Linked DNA regions of Homo sapiens: regions 1, 2, 4 and 5 are each linked to region 3. Evidence: promoter capture Hi-C in human tissues and cell types (Jung and others, 2019). All regions are on one chromosome and are shown on one strand. Each heading gives the region's core, a stretch centred on a gene start or on the middle of the fragment in contact. The rest is flanking DNA. Distances are from core to core; before and after follow the strand shown.

Region 1 (5,372 bases), core at 2,484-4,983, 680 kb after region 3:
CTCTCCCAGACTGTGAGCAACAGGCACTGAGGCCAGCCCGACCCATCCCAGGGGAGTGCCTGCTGGGGTCCTGGCCACCTGGGCCCCCGGGCAGGCATCACTGGCAGGGCTTGCAGCTGGCCCTGGGGCCCCGGAAGCTTGCAGTACAGGGAGCTGATGGGTTTGTAAAATGCAGGTCAGTGTCTCCTAGTGGCTGCCCGGTGATCCCCTCCCTGCTCCCAGAGGGCAGGAGCCAACCTGGGGCTCCCAAAAGGGCTGAACCTCCTGTGCCGAGTCATGGCGCCCTGCACTTCAGGCTATCAGGGCCTTACCCCAGCTGGGACATCCTCACCCCAAGCACAATGGCAAAAGGCAAGCCCTGGCCAGCTCTCCCCGACCTTCCTGCCGGGAGCTGCTGGAGACGGGATAGACATGTGCCAGGGCAGAGCAGCCTTGTAGACACACCACGACCACACCTCTGTCCCAGGGCTGACTCCTCTGAGCCTGGCTGCAGGTGTGTGGCACTGCCCACACTCAGGAGCCCCTGCCTCTTCCACAAGAGAAGTCCCCCGAGAGCCTAGTCTGGGTCACACAGGGCCAAGCCCCTCGAGTCGCAGTGGGGCCTGGGGAAGGCCGAGGGAGGCTTTGGCCAGGCCCCATCTCCCGAGACCATGGGACGCAAAGATCAGGTGGGGCCAGGTAGCTCGTGGCGCTGCCAACTGCAGGGGCTGAGATGTCGGGTTGAGCCCGAGTCCTGAAGGCTGAGTGGCTCCAGGGTGGGTGGCCTTCCAGGTGGCATTGGAAGGGACAGGTGGGCCTGGGCAGCCTAGAGAATGGGAGAGGAGACAGCAGGAGTGGTAGACAGCCCAGGAGCTCAGGTGCAGGGAACCAAGGGCTTGAGAGCCAGCCCCTCCCTGCACACCTGTAGGCCGGGCTGGGGGGCCCCAGGCCAGACTGTGGGCACGGTGGTGGGTGATGAGTGGCATCTTGAAGGCGCATGCAGGGCGGGCATGGCCAAAGGGACCCAGTCAGGAGGGACTGATGGAGGAGGTACTGGAGCCAGCTGGGCTCAGTGATGCCCCCTGAGCTGTGCTCCTGCTGGGTGGGGGCAGAGACCAGCTCCGCCACTTTGGCCTGGGACTGGGACTGTCCTGCTCCTCTCAGGCCCCTGGGGCCTTGGTTTGCAGCCCGGCTTCCCCAGGGTGAGAGCAGGGCCGCAGGAGTGGGCTCCCTGCTGCTGCACCGCCCCCAGAGCAAGCTTGTTCTGAGGGCTCCTGCCTTGGGAGCTGAGCCCATGGTGTGTCCTCATGGGGTGCTGCGCATGGGCCTCGAGGTGGACAGTGCAGGTGGGCCCGGGGCAGGAGTCCTGGGCACGTGGCCTTCCTCCCCACAGGGAGCTCAGCTTCAAGCCGGGGCTCGGCTGCGCTATCCGCTGCCAGCAGGAGACAGGGCTGTCCCAGCTGCATTCTGCCAGGCTCCTGGCTTCCAGGCTGCCCAAGTCCTGAAAGTGGGACCTGCTCGGGAGGAGGGGCGCCTGCTGACAGAGCCTGGTGCCTCACGGGGGGAGAGTGGGCGTCATCCAGCATGGACAGCCCCTTCCCCGGGCTCTGTCCTGGGTGTGACCTGTTGGCTGGGTCTCTTTTTCTCTCTAATGTTTACCTTCCCCTACTGGTGTCCCTGGGCCTGGCCAGCACTCCCAGCACCCACGGAGGGGCCACGTCTCCCCCAGGCCCACCAGCCCCTCTCTTCTGGGGAGGGTGATTCCCGCATGCCTTCTCCCTGCCCCCCCACCCACCAGCCCCTGAGCCCCTGTGGCGTGGCTGGGAGTGTGGGTGACCTGCACGGGTTCCAGGGGCGGGCTCATCTCTCTCCTGTGCTTTTTTCCGTGCAGTGCGGTTTGTGTGGAGTTGGGCTCCGGTGACTCACCCTGCAGGTTCTTTCTCTGGGGTGTGGCTGGTGTCTCCCCGCTGCAGCCTGGTGCTGGCTGGGTCCTGACCGCACCTGTCGTGGCAGGAAACACATTCGTCGTGCCTTGGCTGGTCCCTGTGTGACTGCGTCCCGCCACGTGGGCCACACCCTGGGCCTACCCACCAAGGCCCAGCCTTGGCCCCAGGGACATTCAGCCTGGAGGTGACTGGCTGTGACTCAGGACCCAGAGGAGTAGAGGGAGCCAGGCAGGGGTCCCTCCACCTCGGGGAAGAGCTGGATGGGCTCTTCGGGAGCTCAGAAAGGCTAAGCCTTGAGGGACGGTGACGCAGAGCCGCCTGCCTGCCCGGGCCTCTGCATACCTGGGATCGGGGTGAAGGACCTTTGCCTCCTAGAGGCCTGCCTGAGCCGGGGCTGGTGGTGGAAGGCTGCTGCGGCGGCCCCACGGTGCCCCACAGCAGGTCTGCACACTTGCAGCAGCCCGTCTGACTCACAGGGGCCTGGGCTCCATCTCTCAAGCCCCTCATTTGTGCTCCACCCACAGGAGGTGCTTCCCAAGGACCGTAGATGCCTCTCTAGAGCATGAGCTCAGGCAAGAGTGCCCGCTACAACCGCTTCTCCGGGGGGCCCAGCAATCTTCCCACCCCAGACGTCACCACAGGGGTAAGGGTGTGCCCCTCTGCAAGCCCAACATCCCCAGGACCCCCAGCATGCCCCAGGGATCTGGTGTTGCCTGCAGAGCTCCCAGCGCAGTCCCGTCCCGAGCTGGGGTCTCAGGGGAGCTCGGTGGGGGGGGGTGTGGTGTGTGTGTGTGTGTGTGTGCGCGCGCGCGCGCGCGCGCGCACGCGTGCGTGTGTGGTTGGGGCGTGTTAGTGCTGTGTGGCGCGGCCTGGTTGCATGGTTAAGCGTGTGAGTGCTGCGTGGCGCGGCCTGGTCGCATGGTTAAGCGTGTGAGTGCTGCGTGACCTGGCCTGGTCGCATGGTAAAGCGTGTTAGTGCTGCGTGGCGCGGCCTGGTTGCATGGTTAAGCGTGTTAGTGCTGCGTGGTGCGGCCTGGTCGCATGGTTAAGCGTGTGAGTGCTGCGTGGCCTGGCCTGGTCGCATGGTTAAGCGTGTTAGTGCTGCGTGGCCTGGCCTGGTCGCATGGTTAAGCGTGTGAGTGCTACGTGGCCTGGCCTGGTCGCATGGTTAAGCGTGTGAGTGCTGCGTGGCCTGGCCTGGTCGCATGGTTAAGCATGTTAGTGCTACGTGGCGCGGCCTGGTCGCATGGTTAAGCGTGTTAGTGCTGCGTGGCGCGGCCTGGTCGCATGGTTAAGCGTGTGAGTGCTGTGTGGCGCGGCCTGGTTGCATGGTTAAGCGTGTGAGTGCTGCGTGGCGCGGCCTGGTCGCATGGTTAAGCGTGTGAGTGCTGCGTGGCCTGGCCTGGTCGCATGGTTAAGCGTGTTAGTGCTGCGTGGCCTGGCCTGGTCGCATGGTTAAGCGTGTGAGTGCTGTGTGGCGCAGCCTGGTCGCATGGTTAAGCGTGTGAGTGCTGCGTGGCCTGGCCTGGTCGCATGGTTAAGCGTGTTAGTGCTGCGTGGCCTGGCCTGGTCGCATGGTTAAGCGTGTGAGTGCTGTGTGGCGCAGCCTGGTCGCATGGTTAAGCGTGTGAGTGCTGCGTGGCCTGGCCTGGTCGCATGGTTAAGCGTGTGAGTGCTGCATGGCCTGGCCTGGTCGCATGCTGAAGCGTGTGAGTGCTGCATGGCCTGGCCTGGTCGCATGGTTAAGCGTGTGAGTGCTGCGTGGCCTGGCCTGGTCGCATGCTGAAGCGTGTGAGTGCTGCGTGGCCTGGCCTGGTCGCATGGTTAAGCGTGTGAGTGCTGCATGGCCTGGCCTGGTCGCATGGTTAAGCGTGTTAGTGCTACGTGGCGCGGCCTGGTCGCATGGTTAAGCGTGTTAGTGCTGCGTGGCGCGGCCTGGTCGCATGGTTAAGTGTGTGAGTGCTGTGTGGCGCGGCCTGGTCGCATGGTTAAGCGTGTGAGTGCTGCGTGGCGCGGCCTGGTCGCATGGTTAAGCGTGTGAGTGCTGCGTGGCCTGGCCTGGTCGCATGGTTAAGCGTGTTAGTGCTGCGTGGCCTGGCCTGGTCGCATGGTTAAGCGTGTGAGTGCTGTGTGGCGCAGCCTGGTCGCATGGTTAAACGTGTGAGTGCTGCGTGGCCTGGCCTGGTCGCATGGTTTAGCGTGTTAGTGCTGCGTGGCCTGGCCTGGTCGCATGGTTAAGCGTGTGAGTGCTGTGTGGCGCAGCCTGGTCGCATGGTTAAGCGTGTGAGTGCTGCGTGGCCTGGCCTGGTCGCATGGTTAAGCGTGTTAGCGCTGCGTGGCGCGGCCTGGTCGCATGATTAAGCGTGTGAGTGCTGCGTGGCGTGGCCTGGTCGCATGGTTAAGTGTGTGAGTGCTGCGTGGCCTGGCCTGGTCGCGTGTTAGGCATGTGAGTGGGCTCCACATGTGCACGTCCTCCTTGTGTCCCGGAATGAGGCCAGGTCTCCTCCGTCCTCCCTCTAGACCAGAATGGAAACGACCTTCGGACCCGCCTTTTCAGCCGTCACCACCATCACAAAAGGTGAGCCCTTAAGCCAAGGCCAGCCCAGGCTGGGAATAACCGGGGCACCCCCATGCCCACCCTGCTAAGGACTGAGGGACACTTCCCGGTGAGCTGGTGTTGGGTGCCAGTGCTGGGCGCGGGCAGCCTCACACCGCAGCCTGTGTCCTCACAGCCTCTCAGCCCTGGGCCTCCCCACTGGACAGGAGTCGGGTGTCCTGCTCCTTGTGCCTCGGTGACTGTGCTGTGCCCTCTCTCCCTGCCCTCTTCATCCCCTCTAGGGAGGCTTGCCCTGACATCTCCAGCACCACCACACAGCCCTGTCCCTTGTCACAGTGATCCCCAGCTTGTCCCCAGTCTCAGGCTCCTGGCCAGCCTCCGAAAGGTCCCGTGTGCCCGGAGGTCTTCTCTTGAGTTTGGCCCTAGGGCTTCAGTAACAGTGCTGCAGTTGTGACATGTTAATAGGAAGGGAGGGAGAGTGGAAGAGATCCATAAGTCTGGTTTGTTTTTTTGAGACGGGTGTCACTCTGTCACCCAAGCTGGAATGCAGTGGCGCAATCTTGGCTCACTGCAACCTGTGCCTCCTGGGATCAGTCCTGCCACCTCAGCCTCCCAGGTAGCTGGGACCACAGGCACCACCACACCTGGCTAATTTTTTTTATGTTTGGTAGAGATGAGGTCTCACCATGTTGCCCAGGATGGTCTCAAATTCCTGGGCTCACGTGATCCTCCTGCCTTGGCCTCCCAAAGTGCTGGAATTACAGGCATGAGCCAGCAAGCCAAGCCCAATAAATCTTCACCTGCACAAGACCACTGGGCGGGATACACGACAGAAACCTGAAGCTTCCCTGCTGCTTCTCAGTCCTATCCCCTAAAAACCAGAGTGCTGC
Region 2 (5,783 bases), core at 1,105-3,604, 690 kb before region 3:
ATGGTGGGAGTGGGGCTGGGAGTGGGGCTCACAGGATGGTGGGAGTGGGGCTGGAAGTGGGGCTCACAGGATGGTGGGAGTGGGGCTGGGAGTGGGACTCACAGGATGGAGTGAATGGGGCTGGGCATAGTCTTACAAGATGGAGTGAGTGGGGCCGGGAGTGGGGCTCACAGGTTGGTGTGAGTGGGGCCGGGCATGGGCTCACAGGATGGTGGGAGTGGGGCTGGGAGTGGGACTCACAGGATGGAGTGAGTGGGGCTGGGCACAGTCTTACAAGATGGTGGGAGTGGGGCCGGGCGTGGTCTCACAGGATGGTGTGAGAGGGGCCGGGTGCGGGGCTCACAGGATGGTGCATTTGCCCTTTTCCACCCATGGGTTGTTCTTCATCAGGTCGGGGTTCAGGAAGGGGTCCTTGGGGATCCCGTCCTCGATCCACTTCAGCAGCCTGCGGGTGGGCGGGTGGCAGGTGAGTGGTGGCACCTGACCCCCGAGGGCCTCCTGCTGCACCTGCCTGTCGGCGGCGGTGGTCGTGGCTATGGAAATGAGCAGCCAGCGCAGGGCAGACAAATGAGAGGCAAATCAGGCAGGTGGGGCACTCACTCGGGGATGGTCTTGGACGCCATCTCCCGCTGGAAGGCCAGCTGGTACTTGAGGCTCTCCACCTCTTTCTTCATCTGTGGCACGTCCCACTCCTCCATGGGGTCAGGGGCTTCTGAAGCAGCCAGCCTGGGGCTGGAGGGCACAGGAGGAAGCCACAGGGCCGAGGCCACCAGCCTGTAGTCCCCACCCCCGCTGCTCCCCGCAGGCCTGAGCTGAACCCCGCAGGATGAAGCGGGGAGAGTCCACACCACTGCCTGGGCCAGTCCCCTAGGCGTTGCTAGGGTGCAGGGCACAGAGCGAGTTCCCACAAGGCCCCAGCTCCCGCCTCCTGCACTGGGACTAATTAACTGCAAGAAACTTTACATCCTCAGCTACTCCCCCATAGGCCCCCACACCTTACGAAGATCCCTTGCAGGCAGGAGAAAGGGTGCTCAGCACGGCAGGCCCCCAGCTCCTACCCTCCCACTGAGGCCCACGCAGGCTGACCCAGACCACGGTGTGAGGTGTGGGGCGAGGTCCTCAGGAGGTGGCCCCTGCCCCGCCCCGCTGTGTGCCCCTTTGCTTTGCATGGCAGAGCCCAGTCCAGAGCCAGGACTCCTGGACAGGAATGTTCTGCTGCAGTTTGCTTCTCTGGCAGGTGGGGTGTGTGCTCAGGATCTTGGGGGCTCAGGCTATACTACCCGAGTCTGGGATATGGGCTGTGGGTGGCCCCTGGGTCCCCAGTGTGTCTGGGAACCACACACGTTACCTGCGTGCTTTCTGCTTGTGGCCAGCCTGGGAAAGCCACAGGTTGACACCCCTCAGAACTGCCACAAGTTCGAGGCAAGTGGGGGTGGGTTGCCCCCTGCCTCTCCCCCTACCCACTCCAGGGGCCCAGGGAGTCCCTCACTCCGTCCCAACTCTGGCCCCCGTCCCCAAGGTTGGGAGACAGGGCTGAACCTTGGGAGGGTGGGTGGGGGTTGGCGTCAAGTTTCGGGGAGCCTGCCTCTGGCTGTGAAGGGGGCTCCTGGCCCAACAGTCTCCCCATCCTTTGGTCGTGCAGCTGCACCGGCCACCTAGGGAGGGGCCCAGGGCCTGAGGCTGGTGGGGTCCCGGTGGTGAATTGGGCAGACTCCCAGCAGCCAGCAGAGGGTCTGCCCGTAGTGGGGTGGGAGGCCGGGGAGCGAGCGGGGGCAGGTTTCTGGGGGAGTGATCAGGGTCATGCAGAGGATTCCCTCCCGGAGACTCTGGAGTTCCAGCACCCCTACCCGCCCCCATCCCCGGTGCAGGCCTTTTCTCGGAGACCCTACACTCAGCCCCGTGGGCGCAGGACTAGCTGCGTGCGGGTCCTCCCAGGCCCGGGGTGTTGGCGCCCCGCCCACAGCCCAGTCCTTGCTGCCCAGCCCTACCTTCGCGCAGCTGCCGCCAAGCCTGGCCACCCACCCCGTGCACCCCGTGGACGCCCCCAGCCACGGGACTCGGTGGGCACTGCAGGCGGCGCACGGCGCTCAGATGGACACAGCTCCCCCGCACCGCGAGAGCCGCCTCCCTGCCTGCAGCACCGGCTCGGGTTGGGTTTTGCTGCCTGCGGGGCAGCTGCCCTCGCCCCGGGAGTTAGGGTGAGCCCAGGGGACTGACCTGGGCCAGCTGAGAGTCGAGGGGCCTCCGGGCCCTCCCTAGCCCCGGGCGCCTGTTCATCGGACCTACCTTGAAAAGGTGACAGCGGAGGGACAATGACAACGGCCAGGCGACCGCGAGTGAGAGCGAGGGCCAAGTGATGTTCCGGGAGTCCGCCAGGCAGAGCCCTGGCTGTGCCCCGCCCCTCCCGCCACCTGGGCCCTGGCGCCGCCCCCACACCCTCCTCAGGGCTGGGCTGACCCCAGAGATAGCCTGTGCTGCCCCCTCCCCTGGGCTCACCCAGCGGATGGACATGCAGCCAGGGGCCAGTGTGGGGCTGGTCCATTTTCCCTGAGGGGCCAGCTTGGGCCCTGGTGGAGAGGTCTCCTTCCACTTGAGGGGGTGGGTTCCCCCTCCAGTGTCCTGGGCCAGCCGGGAGGAGTGGGGATGGGGCTGGGACCCTTTGCCCTCTGAAGCCTCTGCAGCCTGCAGGGTTCAGGTGACACTCAGCTGTGCCCCCCTGACAGAGGCATCCTGTGTGGGCCATGTGGCTCACCCTGGGATGTGAGCCTCTTACTGCTAGGGGCCCCGGGGCTCTGTGGAGCTCCCTGCTCCAGCCCGATCCCCTGTTCCCAGACCAGTGGCCGGCACGGGGCAGCTCCCGAGGGCAGGAGAGTGCCGTGCTTTTCAGTCTGATCTGAGCTGAGAGTGGCGGCCTGAGGCGTCCCCAACACCGGTCCACTGTGGGTGCTCTGGGGCACGCTGCCTCGGGAGAGGTGCCCCCAGCTGCAGCACTTGGGCTCGGGTTGTGTGACCTCAAGGCTCTGGGGAGAGGGCTTCCCTTTGGGGCTCCGCACCTGTCAGCCTGCAGAGCTGAGACTGGCCCCTTTTCCTCTGACACGTTTCCCCGTGTCTCCTCCCACCCTGCCCTTGGGTGTACCCCTTGGGCTCCTGTGGGAGCTGTGCCCTATGTACCAGCAGGTGACGTACATACCAGGCTGCATCCTAGGTGGGGGCGCCCAGGCAGCAACAGCAGCCTCTGGGGGCACAGGGCCAAGCTCCCCAAACAGTCCCTGCAGAAGCTGGGCCACCCCCGGGGAAGCGTGGGCCAGGCCCTCGGTGGGTGCTGGCAGGGCCAGGGGCCTGTGAGCAGGTCACTCTGCCTTCCCCAGTGTCACAGGGAACCGCCCGGCCTGCCTGGGGTGGCCCAGACCTCTGCAGGGGTTGTCGGGGAGAGGTGGGCCCTGTCCCTCTCAGGCGCTCAGGTCCCTGAAGTCACTCAGCAGGACTCCCTGCCAGTGTGACTCCGTGAATCGGGGCCACCTGCACCTCCCGCCCTGATGTGTGTCGGCTGGATCAGAGGCGCCTCTGGAACTGGGGCACATTAGGGAAGGGATTATTTTTATTATGGATTTGGGGGTGGGGTGGGGCAGCTTAAAGCCCAGGGCACGAGGCCTCCTCCTCAGGGCAGATGGTTGCCCCTCTTGGCATGGTGGGGGCTAGACGTCTCCCTGATCCCAGTGCCCGCCCTGCCCTGCCTGTGCCCCCTGGTGCTGTGACTTCGGATGCACCTTAGTTTCTGGGCTGCTGAGGGCTCTCCCTGTGGCTGGGGGCACCACTTTGGGCGCCAGAGAGTGGAATGGCTGTTAGGGGAGGGGTGTGTGCCACCCCAGGATGCAGGCAAGGCGGGGGGGACCCCAGGGCATGTCCCCCACGTTCCCTGGGACAGCAGGTGGCTTGGAGCCAGGGCCAGGCGGGGGAACACCCTGAGGTCCGCAGCTGAGTTGTGAGAGCTGGGGGTTCTGTGGCCACTCTCAGGACCCCAAGCGGCCTTTGCATCTGCTCATCTGGAAGGACCTAGGAGGTCTCCTAATGGGGTCGCCAAGGCTCCAGGTTCTGGCTTTTGGTCAATTCACTGGACCCAGTAAGGTCCCTGAGGGTGCCTGAGCTCTGTCCAACACGGCCAGTGCCCCCAGTGAATCAGGACACAGGTTGGAGTGTGGTGTGGGCCACCAGGACAGGTGAGACGGGCCGTGGGGTCACGTCCTGGAGTGAGCACTGCCCTGTGGTCCGGGCAGGTCCTGCCAGTCCTCAGCATCTCAGCAGAGAAGTGGCTGTGTGTACCTGCATGGTGGACCCGGCCTGCCTACCTGAGCAGGGTCTGGGTGACCCCCAAGGCCAAGGGCAGGAGGAGGTTGAGGGAAGTGGGGGCAGGGCCAGGGCAAGCTGAGGGTTTTGGGTCTGCTGCAGGCCCATGTCCCAGGCATGTGATGTGGGTCCCGTCTCTCACCCCACTTCTGTGGCGTTTCTGGTCGCTGGGGGGGCACCAGTCAGCCTCGGTGTCGTGTGGACCCCCAGAATCAGAAGCAGGTCCTGTGCTGACCTGGGTGGGTGCAGTAACCTCTGCTCCCGTGTGAGGGGCTGTGAGGTCCCATCCTCAGTAAGACGGGGGTCTTGAAGACTGACTTCGACCTTCCTACCAAGGCTGCACTCGGAAACCCCCAAACACATCCGGGCGCTGACGCCTTGAGCTGGAGTCAGCCTCGGGTCTGGAATCTGCCTCCCCCGGCCCTACAGCTGGACCCGGCTTCAGCGATTCTCATTGGGAGGAATGGCAGCCAGTCCCCCAACGGAGTGACCACAGCCTCCCGAGGCCAGGGGCTCCTTTCTGAAATTAGGCCACTAATTGGGCCGCTGGCTGAGAACACGCAGGGCTCTTTCCGCTGCCCTAGAAATAGCTGTCCCTGGCCCGAGGGGCTCTTGACCCACCAGGCGTGGGGCTGTGCCGCTGGGCCTGGCTTGGGGCAGGAGCATCGAGACCTCCCATTTACAGCCAACCAAGACCGTGGGGGAAGCACAGGAGGCCGGAGGCCCTTCACGCTGACTTTAGGGCTTGGTACCACACTGGCATAGGGGGCTCTGATCCCTTCCTAGCGGGAAGCTGCAGCAGGGTCTCCCGGGACTGGCCTCTCGCTGCGGCCTCAACTCCGAATGGGTGGGGGAGACAGCCCCCGACACCAGTCAACTCTCCGGGGAACAGAGGGATAAAGTGCTGAGCTGGGGACCAAGGACCAGTCCCATCCTCCACCCGCCTGTGCCCTAGGCTCTGCAGAGGGCTCTGGCTGTCCTAGGGGGACCCTGTGGCCTGCAGGACCCAAGCAGCCCGGGGGTGGTGGGTGAATGTGTGTGGAGGACACGCTGACTTCCCTCAGTCCCTGCAAACAAAACTGCAAGCGTGGGGCCTGGGGAAATAACGAAGGCAGCTCCTCACCAAAGAAACTCACTCCGCCTAGTTAACTGGAGCTCACGGCAACGACTTTTCTGTCATCTGTGAAAGTTTCAAAGTGATTTTCAAAAACAATTGAAGCTCTTAAACCCAAGCACAGAAAACACAACGGAAAACTTCAAGGGATGGGGTGGGGGGAGGGGGGAGGGATAGCATTAGGGGATATACCTGATGTTAAAAGACGAGTAAATGGGTGCAGCACACCAACATGGCACATGTATACATATGTAACAAAGCTGCACGTTGTGCACATGTACCCTAAAACTTAAAGTATAATAAAAAAAAAAAACAACTTCAAGGG
Region 3 (5,648 bases), core at 1,609-4,108:
CCAGATAGCCAAGCCAGACATGCTCCCCACGAAGGCCTCGGAGCTGTCGAATCCGCCCCCCACGCTGTCTTGTTCCTGGCCCAGCACGAGGGACCCTCCGGGGGGGATCTCATAGCCCTCCCTGAAGCGGGAGCCGGTGGCCACCAGCCTGCGATCCACGTGGAGCCAGTACCTGCCCTGGGTGGACGTCCAGATGACACAGATGTGGTGCCACTGGCCGTCCAGCAGCAGCTGCAAGGGCAGCTCCCTGAAGGCCGGGTCCCCGATCACGAAGTGGATGGATCCGGGCAGCAGGGAGTCTCGGCCGTGCAGCACCAGCTTGTTGTCATTGTCCTCGGTGGCGTAGGACAGGAGGGTGCCCAGGCGGCCGGAGGCCGTGCGGACCCAGCTGCAGAAGGACAGGGCTCGCAGGGCAGTGACGAAACCAGGGCTGAGGAAGACCACGTTCCTGGTGGAGGCGTTTGGGAAAACGAGGGTGGGGCCCACGCCGCAAACTAGAAACAGAGGAGGGAGGGTCAACCCCTTGCAGGAGGCCGAGCAGAAGCATCCAGAAGCACACGTGCTGTGGGTGCCTGGCCTCCCACTCCCGGCTGCCACCCTTCACGGAGCACTGACTCTGCGCTGGCCCTGCCGATGGCTCCCCTGCAGCGTCTCCTTCACTCTCTTGATGGGATCACCCCAGTTCCACAGGCGGGAAGACTGAACATGAGGGCCGTACTCGGGAGTGGCGGGGTCCTGCTAGGAGCCCTAGCTGTCGGCCCACCCAGCTGAGCCAGCGCCCCTCACTGCCAGGGAGTCTCTGCAAATTTCATGACTCACAACAGCGCAGGTTTAGTGTTTCACATTTCTGGCGGTCACAAGGCCAACACGGTCTCCCAGGGCTCAAATCAGGTGTGGACAGGGCTGGTTCCTCTGGAGGCTCCAGGAGAAACCATCTCCCGCCCTTTCCAGCTTCCAGAGGCGCCTGCACCCTTCGGCGTGGGGCCTCCTCGTCTGTGCATCCCGCCACCTCTGCTTCTGCCCTCACGCCCTCCTCTGACTGTGTTCCTCCTGCCTCCCCTTAGAAAGCCTCTGTGATGACGGTGGGCCACCCCCCCCGATGATCCGAGACCCTCTCCCCATCTCCCGGCCCCTAACTGAACCTCTTTTGAGAAGCCTTTTCCAGGGGGCCTGGTCTAAGGAGGAGCTGGAGGGAAGCCTGGCCGTGAGCTGGGAGCCTGTGGTACTTACTCTCTCCTGGCACCTGGGGGGACCATGCCTGCTGCCGAGGGTCTTTTGGGGCAGTCCCACTGAGTACCCGATGGCTGCCTGAGGCTGGAGGCTCCCGCCTCCCTTGGAGAGGGGCCGAGGAGTCCTGTGGGGGGCCCCTGTGCTCAGAGGCAGCTCGGAGCTCCTGCCTGTCCCTCTGAAGCTTCAGGGAGGTCGGGCCCAGCTCCTCAGGCTGGGTTGGGGTTGGGACCAGGGCCGGCCCGAGGGCTGCAGTGCCAGGGTGGGCCACGGGCAGCCGCCCCTCCAGAGCAGCCAGCCTGGCGCCCTGGCTGTGGACGAGGCCCTCCAGGCGTGCCAGTGAGTCCTGCAGGGCGTCCCTCTGGGCCTTGTGTGCCTTCCTTTCCCGGGCCCGCTGCTGGCTCCTCTCGCCCAGGGTGAGGTCCAAGGCCCGCAGCCGCGTGTCTACTTTCCGGCCTCGGCGCTGCAGCTTCCTCACCCAGGCCTTGAGCTGCGCCAGCTCCCCCTGCACCGAGGCCTGTGACCGGTTGACTGCCTGAGCCACAGCCTGGCTCTCTTCCGCCAGGCTCCGGAACCGGACGTCAACGTTGTAGGACACGTTGTAGTTGCTGGCGATGTTCTGCAGGTGTGTCCAGGTCACCTCCTGGAATCTCCGGAACTGTAAGGAGGACACGGTGATGATGGGGCGGGCCGGGCCGGGCCGGCTGGGCGGGACGGGAAAGGCTTTGCCCTCTCAAGTTGGGAGCAGCGGCCGCGTGCCCGGGCCACGGCCAGCACTGGCTATCTGCCCACCGATTTGATCCCCACTGCGATGCCGTGAGATGTGGTGGGTGCCAGGGACTGACCCCAGGCCATGCAGCTGCACCACGTGGGGTGTGGACTCCAGGCCCACAGCTGGGGCTCTGATCCCCACCGCTCACCCCATAACCACCGGCAAGTCACTTTCCCTCGTGATTCCAGCTCCTGCCTGTGAGCAGGGGACGGCAGGGTGGCCTCATGAGTGCTTTACGAGGCCCAAACAGGAAGCACCCAGCGCAGGCCCGACAGGCCCACAGCACTCCGGAACTGTCCGTGGACCCCGCGTGGGAGTCCGGGAGGCCGTTCACACCGACTGCCACAAGGTGGACCTGTGACCTCCCAGTTTCCACTCCCCATGACACTACCCGGCCCCCATGGCCCCCAGTTCCCCTGACTCCCTTCCAGACCCCCTTCTAGCCTCTGGCCCCACCTGACCCCCACATGTTATGAGGCTTGTGTCCTGTGTGAGTGGAGCCCAGCTCAGCTCTTCCCTGGTGTCCAACTGCAGGTGAAATAATCTTCATGGATGGAAAGAGCGTCACACGCGGTGTTCGTGTCCGCCAAGCCCTGATGTTTACCAATCTGCTTCTGTAACATCCGTCTTCCATCTGCTGCCAATTTAAAAACCCGACTGCGCCATGTCAGGGGTATAACTTGCCTGTTCCTCCAGCCTACGGAGCCTCTCGAAAAACGGTTTCCTGGGCCCCACTGGGGCGGCTTCCTGCGATGAAGCCCCATGTAGATATATAGGCACAAAAACAAGGAAGAAAGACAAGGTCTTCCTCCACGAGCAACCCATCCGGAGAGACGGCAAGGCCCCAGCAGTCTCCCTCCAGCCGCAGGAGAGGGTGAAGGTGGCTCCGTGGGTCTGTCTTGTGTCTCGTCCCCCCAGCTCTCCTGTTGAGTGGTTTTCCTTCTTTGGCCCTGGCTGGATGTCAGGTTCTTCCTGCCGCCTCCATGAAAGGCATCTGCCTTCAAGCCAGTGGGCTCTGAGACTTGCAGGTTCCTAAGGAGACAAGCTTAAAACAGATGCAAACAGTTTCTTTGAAGAATCATTCAGCTGGGTGCAAGCCCGCGGGCAGGAGGCGATGGCTTTAACAGGAGCACATGGACTTGTGCTCCCGAGAAGTCGAAGCAAGACAGGGAACCCGACGGGGGCTGGGGAGTCAACAGAGCCAGGTCTGCACAGGCACCCATCACCCAGGCCGTGCACGGCTGCATCCTGGGAGGCCCCGTCTCTCTCAGTAAAGCAATGGAAATGTGACTGGGAGCCACCTTAATTAATTAATTATTATTATTATTTGAGATGGAGTCTCGTTCTGTTGCCTAGGCTAGAGTGCAATGGCGCAATCTCAGCTCACTGCAACCTCTGCCTCCCCGGCTCAAGCGATTCTCCTTCCTCAGCCTCCTGCCTCCTGAGGAGCTGGGATTACAGGCGTGCTTTACCATGCCCGGCTAATTTTAGTATTTTTAGTAGAGATGGGGTTTCACTATGTTGGTCAGGCTGGTCTCAAACTTCTGACCTCATGATTTGCCTGCCTCAGCCTCCCTAAGTGTTCGGATTACAGGCATGAGCCACTGCGCCTGGCCAATTAATTAATTTTTTTGACGGAGTCTTGCTCTGTCACCCAGGCTGGAGTGCAGTGGTGCGATCTCCGCTCACCACAAGCTCCGCCTCCTGGGTTTAACGGATTCTCCTGTCTCAGCCTCCCAAGTAGCTGGGATTACAGGTATGTGCCCCCACATCCGGCTAATTTTTGTATTTTTAGTAGAGACGGGGTTTCACCATGTGGGCCAGGCTGGTCTCAAACTCCCGACCTCAGGTGATCCACCCGCTGTAGCCTCCCGAAATGCTGGGATTACAGGCATGAGCCACCGCGCCCGGCCAATTTTTGTATTTGTAGTAGAGACGGGGTTGCCCCATGTGGGCCAGGCTGGTATTTTTGGTTACAGGTTGTGTACTGGCTTGAATGAGACCCTCCTAAAAACACACATAAGCCCCAGGCAGGGCCTTATGTGGAAAAGGTCTCTGCGGATGTCATGAAGGATTTTGAGATGAGACCATCCTGGATTATCCAGGTGGCCCTAAAGCCAATGACAGGGGTACAAGAGACAGAGGAGGAGGCACAGAGGACACGGCCTGTGAAGATGGGGCAGAGACTGGGGTGACGCTGCCACGAGGAACCCCCAGAGGCCCCAGAAGCTGGAAGAGGTAAAGTGGGAACCCCCAGCCCAGAGCCTTCGAGGGAGTGTGCACCTTCACTTCAAGACTTCCAGCCCCCAGAACTGTGATAGGACTCATTTCTGTTGTTTCAAGCCGCCCAGCTCATGGGAATAAGATCATCCACAAAGTTGTCCCACTGGGGGCATCCATCATTCCCAAGGTGGCATGAGCCAAGAGGGTGCCAGGCCAGGAAACCATCGGTGGCCCCCAGGCTCCCCTTGTCAAGCGTCAGAACACCATGGACATGGAGAAGATGCAGAAAGCATCGGAGAGAACATCCTGGGCACATGGACGGGGTTGGGGCCTTAGGCCCCGGGGGACTGGCAGCCACCAGGACAGCGACGCTGGTGCCACACACAGAGCGGCGGATCTCGCAGCTTCCAACTGACAGTGAGTTCCATTTATTTATGTATTTATTTTATTTCGGTAGAGAAGGGTCTTGCTATGTTGCCAGGCTGTTCTCAAACACTCCTGGGCTCAAGCAATCCTCCCAGCTCAGCCTAGCCAAAGTGCTGGGTTTACTGGCGTGAGCCACTGAGCCTGCCTGATTTCCATTTAAAGTTGTGGGTCGGGGCAGGGTGTGGTGGCTCTCTCCTGTAATCCCAGCACTTTGTGAGGTCAAGGTGGGCAGATCACTTGAGTCCAGGAGATCGAGACCAGGCTGGGCAACATGGCAAAACCCCGTCTCTACTAAAATTACAAAAATCAGCCAGACGTGGTGGTGTGCACCTGCAGTCCCAGCTACTTGGAAGGCTAAGGCGGGAGGATCGCCTGAGCCGGGGAGAAGGAGGTTGCAGTGAGCTGAAATCGCGCCACTACACTCCAGCCTGGGTGACAGAGCAAAGAATAAAGACATTTTCAGACACACAAAGGCTTGAGAAATTTGTCCTCCAAGCACCCACTGTTGGATGCGGGGCTTCAGGAAAAGAAGGGAATAGGGAAGGACGGAGCTGCCGTGGGCACTGGCGAGGGCTGGAACCCAGCAGCGGACGGAGGAGGAGTTTCCGGGATGATGGGATGCTGCCTGCCCCATATCCCATCCATCAGCTCTGCCTGCAGAGACATGCCCTGAGTTCAGCTGCTTCTCTACACCCCCATTCCGCCCCAAGCTCATCCTCACAATGGCCACCTAGTCCCCTCGTCCGTGTCGCCCCCCTACCGTCTGCTCTCCTAACTGCACCAGCATGGACCCGTGCCTTCAATGGCTCCAGGAGATGCCTGCCACACAAGCAAAATCTTAGTCCCTGCGAGGGCCTTCTGTGGCCTGGCCCACTGCCTCACTCCCTCCAGGCCTCACCCCTGCATATGCCTCCCTCGGCTCCACCTCCCGGGCAACAGTTGCGGCCTCAGGCCTTTGCACCTGCCGTTTTCCTGCCAGTGAGACTCTTCCCTGGCTGTC
Region 4 (6,000 bases), core at 769-3,268, 510 kb before region 3:
CAAATGACCCGTCTTTATTGCTTGTTTAATTACCTGTTTAATTATATCTTCACCACCTGCAGTGTGAGCCTTGTGTGGGCAGGGACTGACTGTGGACATCGGGCCCCCAAATCCAGGCCTGACCAGCAGTGGCCCGAGCTTCCTCTCAGCCTCCACCTTCCCTGTGTTGCTGGGGCCGTAGCATACGTGTACATCTTATGGTTTAATTCATTTTTAGTTTCCATTTCTTTTCTATGAAACCCCCCTTAGGAGCCCAGCTGTGAAATGGGACCCTGTTAAAGATGTTGCAACGGGTACGAACACACAAACATCCTCCGCATGCTGGCCCAGCCTCCGGGAGCGTGGTGTGTGCCTGAGGGCTCGGAGCCTTGGGGATCGCAGGAGGCATCGGCCCTGGCTGGCGCCCGGCACCCAAGTCCCTCCACAGAGCCCACGACCCGTACCTCTCCTCGTGACCTGGGGGCCAGCTTAGGAAGGGCCGGCACAGCCCACACTGTTCCCCTCATCTGTGGGGAACAGGGAGCCCCACACCCTGGGACCACGCCTGCAGAGCGGGCCCTGTCTGGGTGCCAGGCCTGCTAGGGGACGGACGGCGAGAGGGACTGCCCTGCGTCAGGTGTGGCCCTGCGCTGTCCTCAGGTGGGGCTGCCCTCACAAGGAGGCTTTGTGCACAGCTTCCCCTCGCTGGGCCGAGCTGCTCTCCCCGCGAAGGGCACAATGGGGCATTGTGCAGAGCAGAAAAGGGCCTCTTGTTCCAGCTTCCAGCGCTCCGGGCTCCGGCTCTGCATTTGCCCAGGGTGGGAGCAGTCAGCGGAAGGGTCTGCTGGGAGCTCCTGTTCTCTCTGAGCTCAAGTTTCCCTCAGGGTCTGCTCTCTTGAGACGCTGACCGCAGGGGTCCCATCCACTGCCCAGAATGGCTCCAGAGCAGGTCACCGGGGGCAGGGCTTGGGCCGGGGAGAGGTGGACCAGCAGCTCTGGTCGTGCCCATTTCAGCCTGAATTTAATCAAAAGTGCACTGGGTTATGATTCAGCCATCAAAAAGAATCCAGGAGCCGGGCGCCTGTCATCCCAGCACTTTGGGAGGCCGAGGCAGGTGGATCACCTGAGGTCAGGAGTTCAAGACCAGCCTGGCCAACATGGTGAAACCCCGCCTCTACTAAAAATACAAAAAAATTAGCCAGGTGTGGTGGCGGGCACCTGTAATCCCAGCTACTCGGGAGACTGTGACAGGAGAATCGCTTGAACCCGGGAGGTGGAGGTTGCAGTGAGCCTAGATCGCGCCACTGCACTCCAGCCTGGGCCACAGAGCGAGACTCTGTCTCACTAAAATAAAACATAAAATAAAAAGGAATCCAGTTCTGACACGTGCTACAACACAGATGAACCTCAGAACATCAAGCTCAGTGGGACAGGACAGACGCGGAGGTCATGAGTTGCGTGAGCCCATTTACATGAAATGTCCGGGGTGGGCAAAGCCACGGGGAAAGGAGGGAGCTCTGTGGTCCAGGTCTGGGGACGGGGAGTGGGGAGCCAGTGGTCCGGGGGTAGGACGTTTTCTTTTGGGCTGATGAGAATCTTCTGGAACTAGGCGATGGCTGCCCAGCACTGTGAGGTGCTAAACACCGAGTCGTTCACTGGCAAATGGCTTATTTCATGCTATGTGAATTTCGCCTCGAATTTTAGAAAAGTAAAATGAGGCCGGGCACCGGGGCTCACGCCTGTAATCCCAGCACTTTGGGAGGCCGAGGCGGGTGGATCACGAGGTCAGGAGATCGAGACCATCCTGGCTAACACGGTGAAACCCCGTCTCTACTAAAAATACAACAACAACAACAAAATTAGCCGGGCATGGTGGCGGGCGCCTGTAGTCCCAGCTACTCGGGAGGCTGAGGCAGGAGAATGACGTGAACGCGGGGGCTGGAGCTTGCAGTGAGCCGAGATCGTGCCACTGCCCTCCAGCCTGGGCGACAGAGCGAGACTCTGTCTCAAAAAAAAAAAAAAAAAGTAAAATGAAAACAAAAGACAACAGACAGCCCTGCACTGGTGTTTCAGAATCGCCCGGAAGGCGCTGTCACCTGTCGGAATACATCATGTCATTTACGCTCACCTTACTTCTTTGTCTATATTAAGGCGCATCTAGCAGTTTAAAAATAACATTTAGATACAGGTGTGTCTTATTCTCTAAGAAGGCACTTCACTTAAAAACAGGCTTCTCTGCAAACCCAGAGTGAGCTGCAGCGGCCGGGAGATCGGCCAGGTGTGGTCCTTTCACCCTGCAGCTCAGTGTCCTGTGACCACAGGCACGTGGGCCCTGCCCTGAGCGCCTCACACCAACCCGAGGCGGGAGGAGGAGGAGGGCGTCCTGAGAGTGCCCTGTCAAGCAAAAACTCTAAGAGAAAAAGCCAGGCTGACCCAGGAGAGGCCTGAGGGAGGGGAGTGGAGATGAGGCTCGGCCACCCCAGGGCTGCCCGGTGCTGGGGGAGAAGACGCTGAGAAGAGGAGGAGAATGGGGAGGAAGGGACGGACACCCCAAGAGCACGCAGGCTGAAGACTGGGCTGCCTCCCCGGAGACCGACCAGCCTGCCCTAGGTGGGACCCTGTCCCCGCCGTCCCGGCCTGCGCCAGCACAGCCCCCAGGACCCAGGCACACACAAGCCCGTGGCTGGCCACGCTCCCAGCAGCTGCGGGCCGGCTTCAGGGAGGAATGAGCCCCTGTCGGCACCTCGTCCAGCTGTCCCCCAGCACCCCGGCCTGGCAGCTCCCGCCTCCTCGGGGCCATTGTCCCTGGCATGCGGTGGCAGCTGTCTCTGGCACCCGCAGGAAGCCAGTGTGGGCCCGAAGATAATCGTGCACCCTTCATTTACCCCAATTTTTCATGTCCTGAAGTCTGGGTATGGAAGGGGGGCCCAGGACCCGTGGATGCTAACATCTGTTGCCTCCTCCTGGAAGGGTGGTCAGTTTGGGCAGATCCTGCTGTGACTGTCCAGCGGCCAACCCCCCCACCCCCCACGTGAGGCTGGCAGGTGCGGGTGGGGGCTGAGAGAGCAGGTGTTGTGCCATTTGCTGGTTGTCCTGGGACGATGACTCACAGACGGCTGTTCTGCTTGGCTCACCCTGTCCTCTCCCTGCACCCTCGGCTACAGGTCACGAGTGTTCCCACCCCTGCACCCCAGAAGGAGATGCGGCTCCATGTGACCCTGCAAGCTGGCAAGCCATGGTTTCTAGACAGTGGAAAGCACAGCTCCCAATGTGGTGGTGTTCTCCGGTTGCAGGGCCCTATGTTAGGAAACGAATGTGTAATTTTTTTTTTTTCTCTAGGAATCATATTCTGCACTGGAAGAAGCCTTGAGAGTTGCCTGGCCCAGAGGTCACAAACCAGAGCCCTGCGGGCTGAGCTCTACCCACAGTGCAGTTATCAGTCACCGTGTAGCGGTCACCGACGGCCACATTAATGCTGCGTAACAAACAGCCTCAGAGCCCACCGTTGTGTGTCGCCAGGCGGTGCTGTCCATGCCCAGGCCCCAAGAAAGGCAGGGGAAAGGCTGAGCTGGGCCTGTGCCCTCTGTCCCTTCCTATGAGCCTCTAGAGCAAAGCTTTGCTGAAGGCTGTTGTCTGAACCAAGGCCACAGAGGAAGCACGCTCCCTGCTCCCACTTTGCCCCTCGTACCCGCCTGAGGGCATCTTAATTAAGCCTTCCTTCCCCACGCTCAGAAAAATAAATACTTGGGAGACAGCAGAGACATTTTCACAGGGTGTGTTTTCATTTGCCTTTGGCACTAATGGGTCTCTGGAACGTTCCATCCTGGCCGGGGAGGTCAGGGCCTGGGCGGCCAGGGCCCATTTCGAGAAAGCAGGTTTTCCTTTGTGGCATGCTTATTTCAAGCACCATTTTCCCTCCTGGTTATACTTGAAATGGGGCTCGGTGTTGGGAGGTTTCAAATGTGGACATTCCGGGCAAGGGGCCTCATGAACTCTGTGGACATTCTGGGCAAGGGGCCTCATGAACTCTGAAGGTTGAGCTTGGAAGGACGGACACAGGTCTTGGCAGCCTGAGTGGGTACAAACGCTGATTTTTCTGGAGTCAGTCCTCTCCTGCTGATGGGCTGAGAGAGCCCCCCAGGCCCTGTGTCCCTTCTCAGAGGACCTCAGCCCCCCAGTGCCTGGGCCACGGATGGGCTGGGGGCTGGGGCCCAGGGCCTCGCATCCTACAAGGGCCCAAGGGCTGAAATGGGGCTGGGGTCCCTGGATCTAGGGGATGAGGGCCCAGAACGAGGCTGGGGTCTGGGGTTCAGTGGAGCAATGACCAGGAATCAGGCTGCGATCTGTAGTCCAGGTGTCTGGCGTCAGACAGCACCCTCCTGTACACGGCACAGCTGTACTGCAGGGTTAGGGACAGGATTTACTGCCACCAACGGAAGCGTTGATTCCAAGTCTCAGACACCGCCCCCAGGCTGGGCCTCCCTCGACGGAAGGTGACGCTCTCTGGGAGGTCCTTGGTGCTCACCTCCCTGGCTGCTTGGGGCCCCAGGGCTCCTGCCTAGGGATGTTTTGGGGCTGCAGAAGGACCCTCTGCCCATTATCAGACGAGAAGTGCAGAGAGCAAATGCGTGCTGTTGGCGCCCCCCACCCCCACACTGAGAGTGGAGACGGATAGGCCCAGCCAGAAGCTTGGGGACCCGCTCCCAGCCTGGAGTGACGGACGCTGAGCAGCAGGAGCACAGCTGTTCCCGACACATCCGTGATCTGGGCGTGCACCTGTCACTGGGGAGAGAGCAGTGCTGGTCTCCACGCTTTGGGCATCGCCTGCTCCCTGAATCCTTTCCACATGCGAACAGCCTGGGCAGGGGTCCCCAGCGGTCAGTAGCTACTCCCGCCAGCGCGGGTTCACGGATCAGGAGGCTCCCAGTGTGTCAGGGGAGTGCGAGGTGAAGATGGGGAGGGCTGGGCTGGAAATGCTCGTCCTCCGTGGAGGTCGGGGGCATCAGGAGGACCAGGAGGACGTCTGGGCTGCAGGCAGACGTAAGCTGCAGCAGGGCCAGCTCTGGCTACAGAGGCCCAGAAAGCACTGCTCCTGCAAGGTGCCAAGAAAGACTCACTGAGTGGTTTTCCACTGCCCTGTGAGCGCCAGGAAGCTTAAGGCACAGACAAGGCCAGTTCTCAGGCAGACGCCACCCCAGCCAACAGGCCAGCCTTGACCCAAACCGGAACTCGTGCCCCAGCTGGCACTGCCAGCACCCGAGACAGTGAAGTACAGGGAGCTGCAACCCAGCCCAGAGCTCCAAGTGTGCGTGGCCAAGAAGCTGACTCCCGAAGGGGGTCTTGAGAGGGGTCCTGCGAACCCCTCCTCTCCCCTGGAGACCCGTCCGGGGGCGGGGCCTTTCCCAGCCTCTGCTCACAGCCTGCGCCGGCCCAGCCTGTAGTCACTCTGTCTCTGCCAGACCAGCCGTCATTAAAAGCACCAATTAATCTCCCAGGCCGTGCCAGGACGCTGCCAACTGCCCCACGGGTGCTCGGGATGCAGGGGCTGGGAGGCCCGGGCCAAGGCTGTGCACACACCGGCTGCCAGCGGGTTCACGCCCGCCGGGCCCTCCCTGTGCTTCTCAGAGGCCGCACAAAAGATGGGCTGCCTGCCGCAGGAGGAGGGCCGGGTTGGGGGTGGATGGAGGGGGACGGGGAGGACGGGCAGGGAGGGACGGAGGGGCACAGGGAAGGACGGAGAGGGAGGGACAGGGGCCTCTCCAGGGTGGCATTTCCCTGGGCAGCCCTGCTTCCTCCTCGTGCCCTGGGCCCAACACACACCACACACACACACACACCATACACATGCACACCACACATCACAAACACACCCACACCCTGCACACATACACCACACACTAAACACACACACCACACACATACCACACACATACATCATACACACGCACACACACCACACACCATACACACACCCCACCACACACATACACGCACACACACACACCACACACACACATCATA
Region 5 (4,500 bases), core at 1,244-3,743, 560 kb after region 3:
AAAAAACCCAACACGATCGTATCTGGCCCATCACTACTGAACAGCCATTGGCCACTACTATTATGATTGCTTCGTGAATCATCACACTACCCTTTAAAACAAATTTTTTTTTTTGAGATGCAGTATCACTCTTTCACCCAGGCTGAAGTGTGGTGGTGCCATCTTGGCTCACTGCAACCTCCGCCTCCGGGGTTCAAGCGATTTTCCTGCCTCGCCCTCCTAAGTAGCTGGGGTTACAGGTGCCTGCCACCACACCTGGCTAATTTTTGTATTTTTAGTAGAGACGTGGTTTCGCCACATTGGCCAGGCTGGTCTCGAACTCCTGACCTCAGGTGATCCACCCGCCTTGGCCTCCCGAAGTGCTGGGATTACAGGCCTGAACCACCATGCCTGGCCCATACTACCCATTTTACAGACAAGCAAACTGAGGCTCAGAGAGGCCTGTATCCAAGCCACCTGGTAGCAGAATAGGGATTAGAACTCAGCTTGGTCTAAGGGTTTCAGGCCCTGGGACCGTGAAGCAAAAGGAACTCTTCCTTCCTGATATCACACAAAGCCCAGGTCACGCCTGCACTGGGCAGAAGTTCGAGCACGAGGCCCTAAACCACTGGTGTCCTGACCTGCTGAGTGGCTACAGTGATGCAGGCGATGCTCTGGGGCACCGGGTGTCCATCCTCCCAAGGTGCTGTCTGCAGGGGAGGGTGCCAGCCAAAAGCCACCGGGTAGAAAGAAAACAAGGACCTTGCTAAGATGGGGGGTCATCTGGGCAGATGGGGCCCCTGCCTACCTTTGGGGGGGCACTGGAGTCATAGCAGTGCTCAGTCCCCAGATGGTCCACAGGTGCATCCTTTTTGTTCCTCATGGCACGGATGTTGACCAGCTGTTGCTGCCAGTCCTGGGGCTCCCAGACTGGCACCTTGAGGGGCTCAGCCCCCTCACCTTTCTCACTGTCCGAGCCCTCATAGGCCACACGCAGTCTCTGTGCTTTCCGCGGACGCTTCACGGGGCTGTGGCTTTTCCTCGCTTCTGCAAAAAGCACCACGCAGTCCCTCTGGTGGGGCCACAGGTGAAGGTAGGGTAGGGGTGCCATCCCGCCTGCTAGCTCACCCCTCACTCGTTCATGCCACAACTGTCCATCATCTAATACACTTGGGGTGCTCTGCCCTCTGCAGTCTGGGGTATGTGGGCCCTCCTTATGCCAGCGACCCTGACAAGGTCCATGTTAGCTCATGAGGACTCTAGCAACAGCCTGTACCAAGGTGCCCCCAATACATCTTCTATACTGCACCAGAGACAGTCTGCTAACACCCACATCAGGTTGTGTCACTCCCTTTTAAAAAATCCTGGCCGGCCGGGCGCGGTGGATCAAGCCTGTAATCCCAGCACTTTGGGAGGCCGAGGTGGGTGGATCACTTGAGGTCAGGAGTTCAAGACCAGCCTGGCCAATATGGCAAAACCCCATCTCTACTAAAAATACAAAAGTTAGCCGGGTGTGGTGGCAGGGGCCTATAGTCTCAGCTACTTGGGAGGCTGAGGCAGGAGAACTGCTTGAACCTGGGGGGCGGAGGTTGCAGTGAGCTGAGATCACAACACTCCACTACAGCCTGGGTGACAGAGCAAGACCCGATCTCAAAACAAACAACAAAACCTCCTAATTGACTTCCGTTTACTGTCATAATAAACTCCAAACTCTATCCTGGCATCAAAGCTCCTGCCACCCTGGCTGGCATCACCACCTGCCTGCTCCCAGCTGCACCAGTTCCTCCTGACATAGTCTGGACTACCCCTGGGGTCCCTGGGTGCCTATGGGAATCCAGCTCTGGCCAATTCTGCAGAAGTCCCAGCGGGACTAGCGCAGAGGCCCTGTCCGTGTCCCTCACTGCTCACTGCAGTGCTTGGCCCCCAGCAGGTCCTCAACGGCTGCAGGATAAATATAATAAGTGCCATGCCCTTTCCTGTTTTCCCTCAGAGGCACCCTCCCCCGAGCTGGGGGAGCAGGCTTCTGGCTGCGTGTGTCCTTGGCACCCAGCCTCTCCGAGGACAGCAAGTTCACTGCAGGAGGGCGGGGATGGGACCCACAGAGCCTGGAGTGGAGAGTCCCGGACAGAGTGGTGGGAAAGGAAGCGTTTTCTTGCTTGGGGCGAAAGGGGGCAGCGGAGCGGAGCGCCCGAAACCCAGCCCCTGCGGACCGCAATCTTTGGGAAAAAGGCGCAAGGTGGGAACGCAGGGCCGCACGTGGGAACCGTTCGCGGCTGCCGGGTTTGCAGCCCCTGCCCGCGCAGCTGGGAGCCGCAGGAGGCGGCCCGGGACTCCAGCCTGCAGCCCCTATCCCGCCTCCTCCCACGCTCCAGCCACGGCGCGGCGCTACCTGCTGCAGCCTCTCTTCTCCGGAGAGGCCCGGGCTCCTCCCTACACCCCCGCGGCCCAGCCCCGGGTCCCAGGCTCCGGCTCCGGGTCAGCATCCTCGCGCTCAAGGCGGTCATGCCGGACTCCTGCGGACTACACATCCCGGCGGCCCATGCGGCCCCGTCACGTGATGCAAGGATCGCCGGCCTTTCCGCCAGAGGGCGGCACAGAACTACAACTCCCAGCAAGCTCCCAAGGCGGCCCTCCGCGCAATGCCGCTACCGGAAGTGCGGGTCGCGCTTCCGGCGGCGTCCCGGGGCCAGGGGGGTGCGCCTTTCTCCGCGTCGGGGCGGCCCGGAGCGCGGTGGCGCGGCGCGGGGTAAGTGGCGGTCCCCACGGGGCAAGTGGCGGTCCCCACGGGGCAGCGGCCTAGAGAGGCGGACCCCGCAGTGTCCGGGTCCCGGGCCCTCACCCGCGCCCACTGCAACCCGACTCCGGAGCTCCGAGCATCCCTTAGTTTTAAGTCATGGCGGGTGCGAACGGGTCTCTGCTGCAGGCGGCTCCGTGACAGCTCCTGCTTCACATGGGTAGAGGAGAGACGGCAAACGTCGGGGCTCCCAGGACTTCGCGGCGGCAGTCCTAACCCGTGCACTGAGTCGGGCGGGGCGGGCGGCAGCGTCTGAGTAGAGAGCTCTCTAGACCAGGCCTGGTGTCTCCCGGGCTTTCCTAGGTGCCTGTTTGCGAGCTGGTCAGCTGGGCTGTAGTTGAGTTCTCCCAGGGAGTGTGGGAGGAAAGGTTATGCCCACCAGAGACCCAGGGTCCTGACGGCTGGAGGTCCGCAGTGGGGAAGGTGGGCAGAGGTGTTGCTCAGATGTCCCCATTCCTGTTTCGTTTGCACAGAGGGGTTTTCTGGTGCGTCCTGGTCCACCATGGCCAAACCAACAAGCAAAGATTCAGGCTTGAAGGAGAAGTTTAAGATTCTGTTGGGACTGGGAACACCGAGGCCAAATCCCAGGTCTGCAGAGGGTAAACAGACGGAGTTTATCATCACCGCGGAAATACTGAGAGTGAGTGAGCTACCTGTGTCTTTGCTAGGCTAGAGGGAAATGCAGAGAAGGCTGGGTTTGGTCTTGCACCAGGTTCTGTGGGAGACGGGTTGCTGGCAACTGTCTACACAGGAATGCTGTCTCCAGTACTTGGAGGCCGACATGTCCTTCCTCAGGAGACTTCGAAAGTCAGGATCTTGGTGACCTGGTTCAGGCACACTTGAGTTACTATTCAGATGTTGATGAAAGAAAGCCCATCTTATAGATGAGGCCTGAGTATCATCATCTTCACAGGTAAGGATATGTCCAGGTGTTACATGATAAGATGTGAGTTCCTGGGAGAAGTAGGTTCTTTATTTTATTTTTTTTTTGAGACTGAGTCTTGCTCTGTTGCCTAGGCTGGAGTGCAGTGGCACAATCTCTGCTCGCTGCTACCTCTGCCTCCCAGTTTCAAGTGGTTCTCCTGCCTCAGCCTCCTGAGTAGCTGGGACTACAGACACGTGCCACCACACCCATTTAATTTTTGTATTTTTAGTAGAGATGGAGTTTCACTATCTTGGCCAGGCTGGTCTTGAACTGCTGACCTCAGGTGATCTGCCCGCTTTGGCCTCCCAAAGTGCTGGGATTACAGGCATGAGCCATCGCACATGGGCTAGGTCGTTATCTTTTATGTGTGTTTGTGTCTTTGTCACACATGCCTGGCATTGTGTTTTGCCCATGAGTAAATGCTGAATTTTTGCACTTGTAAAGTTTTCTACTTAGAAACAACTAAAACGTTCATCAACTGATGAATAAAATATAGTCCATCCTGGCTGGGTGCGGTGGCTCACGCCTGTCATCCCAGCACTTTGGGAGGCCGAGGCGGGTGGATCACCTGAGGTCAGGAGTTTGAGACCAGCCTGGCCAACATGGCGAAACCCCGTCTCTACTAAAAATACCAAAAATTAGCCGGTCATAGTGGTGGGCGCCTGTAATTCCAGCTACTCGGGGGGCTGAGACGAGAATTGCTTGAACCCGGGAGGCGGAGGTTTCAGTGAGCCGTGATCGCGCCACTGCACTCCATCCTGGGGAAGAAGAGCAAAACTCCGTCTAAAAAAAAATTGTGCAG

Evidence for each region. Contacts are between HindIII fragments. The study calls those that stand out against the background at their distance.
Region 1: a contact is called between a fragment that was not itself captured here and the fragment with the promoter of PTX4 in region 3, in 1 of the 25 tissues and cell types used here (spleen).
Region 2: a contact is called between the fragment with the promoter of GNG13 here and the fragment with the promoter of PTX4 in region 3, in 2 of the 25 tissues and cell types used here (dorsolateral prefrontal cortex and lymphoblastoid cells).
Region 4: a contact is called between a fragment that was not itself captured here and the fragment with the promoter of PTX4 in region 3, in 2 of the 25 tissues and cell types used here (mesenchymal stem cells and spleen).
Region 5: the fragment with the promoter of NTHL1 here is called in contact with the fragment with the promoter of PTX4 in region 3 in 1 of the 25 tissues and cell types used here (spleen).

The regions. Positions count from the first base shown.
Region 1 is chr16:2,161,434-2,166,805 of GRCh38, forward strand. It overlaps TRAF7 (TNF receptor associated factor 7), which reads left to right. Exons shown (of 21, transcript NM_032271.3): 2 at 2,450-2,568; 3 at 4,446-4,503. The coding sequence starts at 2,488. Among named protein-coding and RNA genes, the nearest start is that of TRAF7, 8.3 kb to the left of the region's middle. RefSeq lists enhancers at 1,537-2,038, 2,039-2,538, 2,948-3,721, 3,722-4,494. The HindIII fragment of the contact is 6,093 bases long and covers 688-5,372 here.
Region 2 is chr16:798,380-804,162 of GRCh38, forward strand. It overlaps GNG13 (G protein subunit gamma 13), which reads right to left and starts at 2,355. Exons shown (of 3, transcript NM_016541.3): 1 at 2,287-2,355; 2 at 601-732; 3 at 1-445. The coding sequence starts at 698. The coding sequence ends at 340. RefSeq lists enhancers at 2,044-2,593, 2,594-3,143, 3,144-3,693, 4,511-5,055, 5,600-5,783. The HindIII fragment of the contact is 13,916 bases long and covers 1-4,107 here.
Region 3 is chr16:1,486,086-1,491,733 of GRCh38, forward strand. PTX4 (pentraxin 4) reads right to left here and starts at 2,859. Exons shown (of 3, transcript NM_001328608.2): 1 at 2,684-2,859; 2 at 1,231-1,885; 3 at 1-494. The coding sequence starts at 2,824. The HindIII fragment of the contact is 5,905 bases long and covers 2,228-5,648 here.
Region 4 is chr16:972,023-978,022 of GRCh38, forward strand. LOC124903620 (a long non-coding RNA gene) reads left to right here and starts at 2,047. Exons shown (of 2, transcript XR_007064935.1): 1 at 2,047-2,589; 2 at 3,319-3,736. CEROX1 (cytoplasmic endogenous regulator of oxidative phosphorylation 1) reads right to left here. Exons shown (of 3, transcript NR_164343.1): 3 at 3,739-5,071. It also overlaps a transcript of LMF1 not described here. RefSeq lists an enhancer at 141-1,131. The HindIII fragment of the contact is 4,224 bases long and covers 1-4,130 here.
Region 5 is chr16:2,045,341-2,049,840 of GRCh38, forward strand. NTHL1 (nth like DNA glycosylase 1) reads right to left here and starts at 2,494. Exons shown (of 6, transcript NM_002528.7): 1 at 2,369-2,494; 2 at 788-1,026. The coding sequence starts at 2,483. TSC2 (TSC complex subunit 2) reads left to right here and starts at 2,645. Exons shown (of 42, transcript NM_000548.5): 1 at 2,645-2,725; 2 at 3,247-3,413. The coding sequence starts at 3,276. RefSeq lists enhancers at 1,898-2,397, 1,989-2,048, 2,499-2,588 and a silencer at 2,679-2,908. The HindIII fragment of the contact is 27,107 bases long and covers 1-4,500 here.